Regions from separate parts of the Homo sapiens genome. Here region 2 is linked to region 1. The links are contacts of gene promoters, found by promoter capture Hi-C in blood cells and fetal thymus (Javierre and others, 2016). All regions are on one chromosome and are shown on one strand. Each heading gives the region's core, a stretch centred on a gene start or on the middle of the fragment in contact. The rest is flanking DNA. Distances are from core to core; before and after follow the strand shown.

What was found. Contacts are between HindIII fragments. The CHiCAGO score rates a contact against its expected background, and 5 or more counts as called.
Region 2: a contact is called between a fragment that was not itself captured here and the fragment with the promoter of FPR1 in region 1, in 1 of 17 cell types (monocytes). The highest score is 5.6, in monocytes.

What each region holds. Positions count from the first base shown.
Region 1 is chr19:51,748,960-51,753,930 of GRCh38, reverse strand. It overlaps FPR1 (formyl peptide receptor 1), which reads left to right and starts at 2,053. Exons shown (of 2, transcript NM_002029.4): 1 at 2,053-2,117. The HindIII fragment of the contact is 1,877 bases long and covers 983-2,859 here.
Region 2 is chr19:51,669,803-51,674,773 of GRCh38, reverse strand. No RefSeq gene overlaps it. Among named protein-coding and RNA genes, the nearest start is that of MIR99B, 20 kb to the left of the region's middle. The HindIII fragment of the contact is 5,735 bases long and covers 1-4,971 here.

The DNA.
Region 1 (4,971 bases), core at 804-3,303:
TTACAAAGTGTTGGCTTCCATGTGACTCCTAGGCACGTCTTCATTTGTTACCCTTCATACCTTGGGAATCTTCTAAAATGCATCTGTTGTTATGATCCCAAGAAAATGTTTATAAAATACAAACACAAATGTTTATAAAGTACAAATGAACATATCACCCTTCTGATTAAAGATCTTCAGTGATTCTCCATCTCATCCCCATCCTCCTGGTGTGGGATGCTGGAGTGTAGCAGTCCCCAACATTTTTGGCACCAGGGACCAGTTTCATAAAAAACAATTTCTCCATGGGGTGGCGGGGTAGATGGTTTCAGGATGATTTAAGCACATTGCATTTATTGTAGACTTTATTTCTATTATTATTATTACATTGTAATACACAATGAAATAATTATACAACTCACAATGATGTAGAATCCGTGGGAGCCCTGAGCTTGCTTTCCCGCAACTAGACAGTCCCATCTGGGAGTGATGGGAGACAGTGACAGATCATCAGGCATTAGATTCTCATAAGGAGCACACAACCCAGATCCCTGGCATGCACAGTTCACAGTAGGGTTCACACTGTTATGAGAATCTAATGCCGCCACTAATCTGACAGGAGGCAGAGCTCAGGCAGTAATGCCAGCAATGGGGAGTGGCTATAAATACAGATGAAGCTTCTCTTGCTCACCTGCCAGTCACCTGCTGTGCAGCCCACTTCCTAACAGGCCACAGACCGGTATCGGTCTGTGTATTGGTCTATGGCCTGGAGGTTGGGGACCCCTGCTGTAATGTGAAGTCAGGAGCTGTGGTAGCTTTCTTGGAGCCATGAAGTGGCAATCCCCAGGAAAAAAAGTCACCATATTAGGGATAAAAAAGAGAAAAGATTAAAATGAATGTAGTTCTTGATGATATTTTCCAGATATAACCTAACCTAGTATTACCCTCTTGCAAAATTCTTGTAAAGTAAACCATAAATTTCGTCTTGGTTCTAAGCTAAGCTTGTCCAGCCCATGGCCTAAGATGGCTTTGAATGCAGCCCAACACAAATTCATAAACTTTCTTAAAACATTATCAGATTTTTGGGGGATTTTTTTTTTTTTTTTTTTTTTTAGCTCATCAGGTATCGTTAGTGTTAGTGTATTTTATGTGTGGCCCAAGACAATTCTTCTTCTTCCAGTGTGGCCCAGGGAAGGCAAAAGATTGGACACCCCTTGTTGAAGCCATTGTTAGGTGTAATTGTAAATTATAAATTACTTAGAATTAAAAACAGCCCGGCTCATGCCTGTAATCCCAGCATTTGGGGAGGCTGAGGCAGGAGGATCACTAAACCCAGGGGTCTGAGACATGCCTGGGCAACGTAGCAGGATACTGTCTCTAAAAGAAAAGAAAAAACAGTCTTAATGCAACAATGCCTTGGTAATAATGCTTTTAGAATCAGTGTCGTTATCTCTGATTCTGTAACTGTCTTACCATATTTCTCCATATCACTCTGATACCCTTGGAAGGATGCTTAACATTTCAGAAAAACGGTTATTTCTTTGGGCTAGAAGACTACAAATGAGCTTCCACAAGATCAGAGGATTATGGGGTTAATCTTGGTGGTGTGCATGGGTGTGGACGCGCTGTCCTGCCAACTGTCTCAACTTCCCCCACTCCCTTACCTCTCTCTGTGTTTCTGGTCTCCATCCCTCATGACTTCTTCTCTTCCTTTCATTGCCTCCCTCTGATTCTTCTCACCACAGTGCTTGCTGCTTTCTTTACCTTGACCCTTGGAGGGAGCAGGGGCCCGGACACTTGGATTTCTTGGCCCTTGTTGTTGAGAGCACTGAACCTCTGCATCCCACAGAGACTGAGGCTGAGAAATACAGTCAGGTACATGAGTTTCTAAACAGGCCCAGCCCACTGTCCTAATGCCATTAAAGCAGACAGTATATTGGTGTATTCTTGGGGCCATCAAAAATCAGAAGAAGCTCAGACTTCCTATTTCCTGCTACCCAGCTGGTTTTAGTTCCTTTACCCCTCCTCCTGTTCCTTGGTGTATGTTTTGCTGCAATCATTAGAGCCTGAGTCACTCTCCCCAGGAGACCCAGACCTAGAACTACCCAGAGCAAGACCACAGCTGGTGAACAGTCCAGGTAAGAAACATATTCTGGGGGACTGGGTAGCTTGACATAGACACACTTAATACACTGGTGAACACAATAGACTCTTTGTTTGAAGAAGGATGTGGAGTTGAAGAATAATTTTTTTAAAGAGGTTCTAAACAGGCCGGGCACGGTGACTCATGCTTGTAATCCCAGCACTTTGGGAGGCCAAGGCAGGTGGATAACTTGAGGTCAGGAGTTCGAGACCAGCCTGGCCAACATGTTGAAACCTCACTTCTATTAAAAATACAAAAATTAGCCAGGCGTGGTGGTGGGCGTCTGTAATTCAAGCTACTTGGGAGGCTGAGGCAGGAGAATTGCTTGAATCTGGGAGGTGGAGGTTGCAGTGAGCTCAGATTGCACCACTGTACTCCAGCCTAGGTGACAGAGTGAGACTCCATCTCAAATAAATAAGTAAATAAATAAATAAACAAATAGGCTCTAGACTTTATTGGGGTCCTGATGGGAATGATGGAATATAGAGACACTATGAGGCTGCAGGAGAGAGAAGGGATAAGTGAAGGAGGGAAGTTCTTGAGTAAATGGGGGAATGAGTTTTATGGGACCAGTAGAGGGTAATTCTTGGATGGAAACACTTGTTTTCTGGTTACAGAGATGAGGGCAGAGAACAGTGATGCAGGAGCCAGCAGGAGGAGAATCTGGTGGAGCAAGAGGCAAGGGCATCAGCTTGAGGGCTTGAGTCGGGATGGGAAAGGATGTTTGGTTTGAAGCTTTCAGGAGAAAGCAAAAGAGCCCTAACGACTTTATGATGGGTCATGGGGAAATGAGTGTAATACAGAAGCAGTCACCTTTCGGATCAGTGATGAGTCTCCACGTGAAGACACTGGTTCTGCATGGTGCATAGGACCCAGTAGCGGAATACAGCCCTGCCCTCTCATGAATCTGCAGACATTGGCTGTCATTTCTCATCAAGCTCCTAGTTTCCTCTTCCGTCACACAGGGATGATGATGTATAATCAATGCTGAGTTTGTTGAGATCAGAGGCAAGAAAGTTGAGGATGTGGTACAATGATTATCAAGCATAAAGTCCTTCATCGATGGCAGCCACCAAGGCCTGTGTTCATTGCAAATCACAGGATTTTTCCCTTGAACCATAATTGGACAAAATTGCACAGGTTTTCCTCTCTGGTATGTTCCAGCTCATTATTGCAGAATCCTCATCATTCATTGCAACAATCTTCTGAACTGGTTGCCTTAGAGATTCTTGAGGACAAAGAGTCCTCAGGGTATTTTGGTGGTTGGATGGGTGGTAGGGGAGGGAGACATCTCTGAGTTGTTTCTGAGATTGTAGAGTATCAAAGTTCATTAGAAATGTGAGACACATATGTAATTTCAAAGTGTCAAGTAGGCACTTTAAAAAGGTGAAGAGAAACATGCGAACTTAATTTTAATAAAATATCTAACCTAAACTTAAATAGCCAAATTATTATCATTTTAACATGTAGTCAATATAAAAACTATTAATGAGATGGTCACAATATTTTTTTCATACTAAGTCTTTGAAATCTGATGGGTATTTTACTCCTACAGCCTGTCTCCAGTTGGACTAGCCACAATTCAAGTGCTTGAAAACCACATGTGGTGAGTGACTAGTGCATTAGACAGCTCTTCTGTGCCAGTAGCGTGGCAGGGCAGAGGCAGAAAGAGACTTTTGCTGGAATTCGACAGCCTGGGCTGTTGGGTGACTTTAAGGAATTAACTGAAATGCTCTAAGTCGCACTTTCCTCGTCTGCAAAATGGGTACCATAAAGACAGTGACCCTCATAGTAACAATTTTGAGGAAGGCTGCTGCAAGCATTAGAAGAGAAGACCAGGCCGGGCGCAGTGGCTCACACCTGTAATCCTAGCACTTTGGGAGGCTGAGGCAGGTGGACTGCCTGAGCTCAAGAGTTTGAGACCAGCCTGGGCAACATGGTGAAACCCCATGTCTACTAAAATACAATTAAAAAGAAAAATTAGCCAGGCACGGCGGCGTGCACCTGAAATCCCAGCTACTCAGGAGGCTGAGACAGGAGAATTGCTTGAACCTGGGAGGCGGAGGTTGCAGTGAGCTCAGATCACGCCACTGCACTCCAGCCTGGGTGATAGAGAGAGACTCCATCTCAAAATAAATAAATAAATAAAATAAAATAAATTAAAAAAAAGAGAGAAGGCCAGCTCTCAGCAAGAACCTGACATGCACTTTGCATACCTGATCTAATGAAATGTCATATCCAATACATATTTGGACTATTATTTCTATCACGGTCTTCTACATCCCCAAGAGTGCTGAGCCCATCCAATGGATGGAGAAGCACCTCCCATCCATCTGGCCAAGGTAACCGCAGAGACGAGAGTGGAAACAGAGTCTGTTGTTCTGACTTCTTCTAGCACAGAATCCATTGGATATAATACTTGATTATACGTCGTTTAGTATCACTCACGGATCCATTTGACCTATGTTGGAAAACTAACCAAGTACTATGCCTTGCTTCCCACGATGAGAGAGGAAAGGGAGATTTCATGACCTTAAAGAGAGAGAGCGAGCAGAATTTGGAGTGGAGAAGTTGCATATCTTTTTTTTTTTTTTGAAACGGAGTCTCGCTCTGTCGCCCAGGCTGGAGTGCAATGGCGCAGTCTCTGCTCACTGCAACCTCCGCCTCCCACGTTCAAGTGATTCTCCTGCCTCAGCCTCTGGAGTAGCTGGGACTAAAAGCACCCACCGCCATGCCTGGCTAATTTTTGTATTTTTAGTAGAGATGGGGCTTCTCCATGTTGGCCAGGCTGGTCTCGAACTGCTAACCTCATGATCCACCCGCCTCGGCCTCCCAAGGTACTGGGATTA
Region 2 (4,971 bases), core at 1,138-3,637, 79 kb after region 1:
AAAGTAAAATTTATTTAGGCAAAGTGTTTAGGCAAAATACTTACCAGTAATGATGATCATATCACAATGATAATAATTTCATCAGAACATTTAAAAACCTAATTAGTATGCACTAAATAATGCAGCCTCAAAATATATAAATCCAAAGTTGTCAGAACTACAGAAAATGTCCAAATTCATAATCATAGTGGGAAATTTTTTAACATATCTCTTTCATTAATGAGTAAATTAAACATGAAAAAAGTCAGTGAAGATGAAGAAAATCTACACAACATCATCAACAAATTGACTTAAACAAAAGACAAAACAGTACACTCACAACAGCAACAATACATGCATTATTAAAGCACACACAGAATATTTGTACAACTTGATCAGAGACTGAGCCATTGAGAAAATCTCAACACAGTTTAAGGGATTTATATCACAAAAAGTATATTTTCTGATCACTTTGTTGTTAAGATGGAGATCTGAAACAAAAATATTATTGAACTCTTGAAAGGTTGAAAATTATGCCTAGGTTTTCTTCTAGGGTTTTTATGGTTTTAGGTTTAACGTTTAAATCTTTAATCCATCTTGAATTGATTTTTGTATAAGGTGTAAGGAAGGGATCCAGTTTCAGCTTTCTACATATGGCTAGCCAGTTTTCCCAGCACCATTTATTAAATAGGGAATCCTTTCCCCATTGCTTGTTTTTCTCAGGTTTGTCAAAGATCAGATAGTTGTAGATATGCGGCATTATTTCTGAGGGCTCTGTTCTGTTCCATTGATCTATATCTCTGTTTTGGTACCAGTACCATGCTGTTTTGGTTACTGTAGCCTTGTAGTATAGTTTGAAGTCAGGTAGTGTGATGCCTCCAGCTTTGTTCTTTTGGCTTAGGATTGACTTGGCAATGCGGGCTCTTTTTTGGTTCCATATGAACTTTAAAGTAGTTTTTTCCAATTCTGTGAAGAAAGTCATTGGTAGCTTGATGGGGATGGCATTGAATCTCAGGACATAGGCGTGGGCAAGGACTTCATGTCCAAAACACCAAAAGCAATGGCAACAAAAGACAAAATTGACAAATGGGATCTAATTAAACTAAAGAGCTTCTGCACAGCAAAAGAAACTACCATCAGAGTGAACAGGCAACCTACAACATGGGAGAAAATTTTCGCAACCTACTCATCTGACAAAGGGCTAATATCCAGAATCTACAATGAACTCAAACAAATTTACAAGAAAAAAACAAACAACCCCATCAAAAAGTGGGCGAAGGACATGAACAGACACTTCTCAAAAGAAGACATTTATGCAGCCAAAAAACACATGAAGAAATGCTCATCATCACTGGCCATCAGAGAAATGCAAATCAAAACCACTATGAGATATCATCTCACACCAGTTAGAATGGCAATCATTAAAAAGTCAGGAAACAACAGGTGCTGGAGAGGATGCGGAGAAATAGGAACACTTTTACACTGTTGGTGGGACTGTAAACTAGTTCAACCATTGTGGAAGTCAGTGTGGTGATTCCTCAGGGATCTAGAACTAGAAATACCATTTGACCCAGCCATCCCATTACTGGGTATATACCCAAATGAGTATAAATCATGCTGCTATAAAGACACATGCACACGTATGTTTATTGCGGCACTATTCACAATAGCAAAGACTTGGAACCAACCCAAATGTCCAACAATGATAGACTGGATTAAGAAAATGTGGCACATATACACCATGGAATACTGTGCAGCCATAAAAAATGATGAGTTCATATCCTTTGTAGGGACATGGATGAAATTGGAAACCATCATTCTCAGTAAACTATCGCAAGAACAAAAAACCAAACACCGCATATTCTCACTCATAGGTGGGAATTGAACAATGAGATCACATGGACACAGGAAGGGGAATATCACACTCTGGGGACTGTGGTGGGGTCGGGGGAGGGGGGAGGGATAGCATTGGGAGATATACCTAATGCTAGATGACACATTAGTGGGTGCAGCGCACCAGCATGGCACATGTATACATATGTAACTAACCTGCACAATGTGCACATGTTCCCTAAAACTTAGAGTATAATAAAAAAAAAAAAAAAAAAAAGAAAATTAAGAAATTTTATCCAGTATTAGAGATGGAACCTAATGGGAGATGTTTGGGTTATGGGAGTGGGTGCCTCATGAATGGCTTGGTACTGTCCTCTTGGTAATGGGTGAGTTCTTGCTCTATTAATTCTTACAAGAGCGGTTGTTAAAAAGAACCTGCCACCTGCACTGTCCCTATCTCTTGCTTTCTCTCTCCTCATGTGATCTTTGCACGTGGTGGCTCCCCTTTACCTTCTGCCATGAGTAGAAGCGGCCTGAGGCCTCACCAGAAGCAGATGCTGGTTCCATGCTTTCTATACAGCCTGCAGAACTGTGAGCCAAATACACCTCTTTTCTGTATAAATTACCCAGCATCAGGTATTGCTTTTTTAGCAAGACTAAATGGACTAAGACAGATATGAATAGCTTAAAATCATATTACTGGAATTGAAATAAGATAAACTGAATTCGATCTTTCTTCTCAAGAGATAAAAAAACTCAAGAAAGTAGACATAAGAAAATAATAAAATAAGTACTAAATAATACATGTTTTAAAATGCATACAACAGAATCAACAAAGCCCTAACTTGTTTGGTGAAAAAGTAATAAAATTGATAAACCTCTGGGGAGTCTAAATACAATGAAAAGAGAGAAGGCACATGTAACTAATGTCAGAAATAAAGGACATAACCACTGATGTTGCAGACATTGAGAATATACGATAATATTTTGAACAATTTCACATACTTTGACATTTAGATTAATGGATAAATTAATAAAAATATGTAATTTAGTATAATAGCCTCAGAAAACAAGTAGAAAACCTGAATAGTTCTAAAACTATTCGGAAGAATCAGTAGTAAAAATCATCTCACCAAGCAAACTTTAGGTCAAGATGGCTAAACTTTAAGTATACCAGCAAATTGTACCAAAACTTAAGGAAGAAATTACTCTATTCCTATTCAAACTCTTGCTCATTTTCTGTGGCTAATTATAAAATTAATACCCAAACTCAACAATATAAAAAAATAAAAGTATAGGCAAATCTTAATTAGGCATATAGTGGCACAAATATTAAGCCAGAGTTTGCAAATTAAATAGAGCTAGATATAAATATGATAATGCATCATAGCCAAGATGTGTTTATGTCAGGAATGCAAGGGTGGTTTAACATTAGAAACTCATTTAGTGTATTTATCACAAGCTCAAATACAAGAAAAAAACATAATATGACCATCCCATGGAAGGTGGAAATGAGTCTGATGAAATTCTACCTTTATCCATAACAATTCTCATCAACTGAGGAATATACAAATCCAATTAGAAAAAAAAATCAGGCAATCCAATAGCAAAATTGGCCAATCACTTCAAAAGTGACTTTACAAGAAGAAAATCCAATGAACTCCAATTGTATAAGAAAAGGTCCTCGACCTCTTTAGAGGTAGAAACCAATCAGTGTCATAGTGGATACCATTACATACTCATCAGATTGCTAAAAATGGAAAGTACCAAGGGTTGGCAAGGATGTGGGGCAATGGTAACTCTCATATTGTACACTTTTGGGAGTGTAAATTCATGCAATTGTTTGGGAAAATTTTTTAGCATTATCTACTGAAGTAGGAGATATATACACACACTTACATACAGACCATCCCTGACTTATGATGATTCAAGTTATAATTTTTCATCTTTACGATAGTGCAAAAGCCATACACATTCAGTACTCAGTATACTGAGTACACATTCAGTATAATCCCATCATACATGGAAAATATTAAGTAGAAAATTACTTCTGACTTACTATATTTTCAATTTATGACAGATTTATCAGGATGAAACTCCACCATAAGTTAAGGAGCATCTGTACACAGGCATACTGACATATATACAGAAGTTCCTCTAAGATGCATCCTCTAGAGACAGGGTTCTACTAGGAGATACCAAGATTCTTTCAGGGGGCATCTTCAAGGTCAAAACTATTTTAGTAATAATACACAGATGTTATTTGCGTTTTTCTCTGTGTTGACATTACATTGCTGGTGCAAAAGCAATGGTACATAAAAGGGCTGTAACCTTAGCCGGAAGCAAGGTAATAGCACTAAATTGTGCTAGAAAGTTGTATTCTTTATCACTTCACACTCACTGTTAAGGAAAATTCCAGCTTCATTTAAGATTGCACTTGATGAAACAGTAAAAGCTATTAATTGTGCTAAATCTCAACTCTTGAATACACTTTTTTAAAACTTTTATTTTAAGTTTGGGGTATATGTGCAGGTTTGTTGCATAGGCAAACTTGTGTCCTGGTGGTTTGTTATACAGATTACTTCATCACCCAAGTATTAAACCTAGTATTCGTTAGTTATGTTTCCTGATCCTCTCCCTCCTCCCACCCTCCACCCTCCAGTAGGCCCCAGTGTGTGTTGTTCCCCTCTATGTGTTCTCATCATTTAGCTCCCACTTACAAGGCAAGTGGATCGATGAAGTGTGGTATATCCACATAATGGAATACTATTCAGCAATGAAAAAATGAAATACAGCTATATGAATACATAGAATATTGTCATCAATGTGATATTATAAAAATTTGCAAAATCAAATGAACACATGGAATCTTGTTCCATACATGTAAATATGTAATCTTAAAAATAGCTAAAAGAAAACTATTATGCTGGGCACAGTGGCTCATGCCTGTAATCCCAGAACTTTGGGAGGCACAAGGCAGGCAGATCACCTGAGGTCAGGAGTTGGAGACCAGCCTGACCAACATGGAGAAACCCCTTCTCTACTAAAAATACAAAATTAGCTGGTCATGGTGGTGCATGCCTGTAATCCCAGCTACTCAGGAGGCTGAGGCAGGAGAATCATTTGAACCCAAGAGGCGGAGATTGCGGTGAGCCAAGA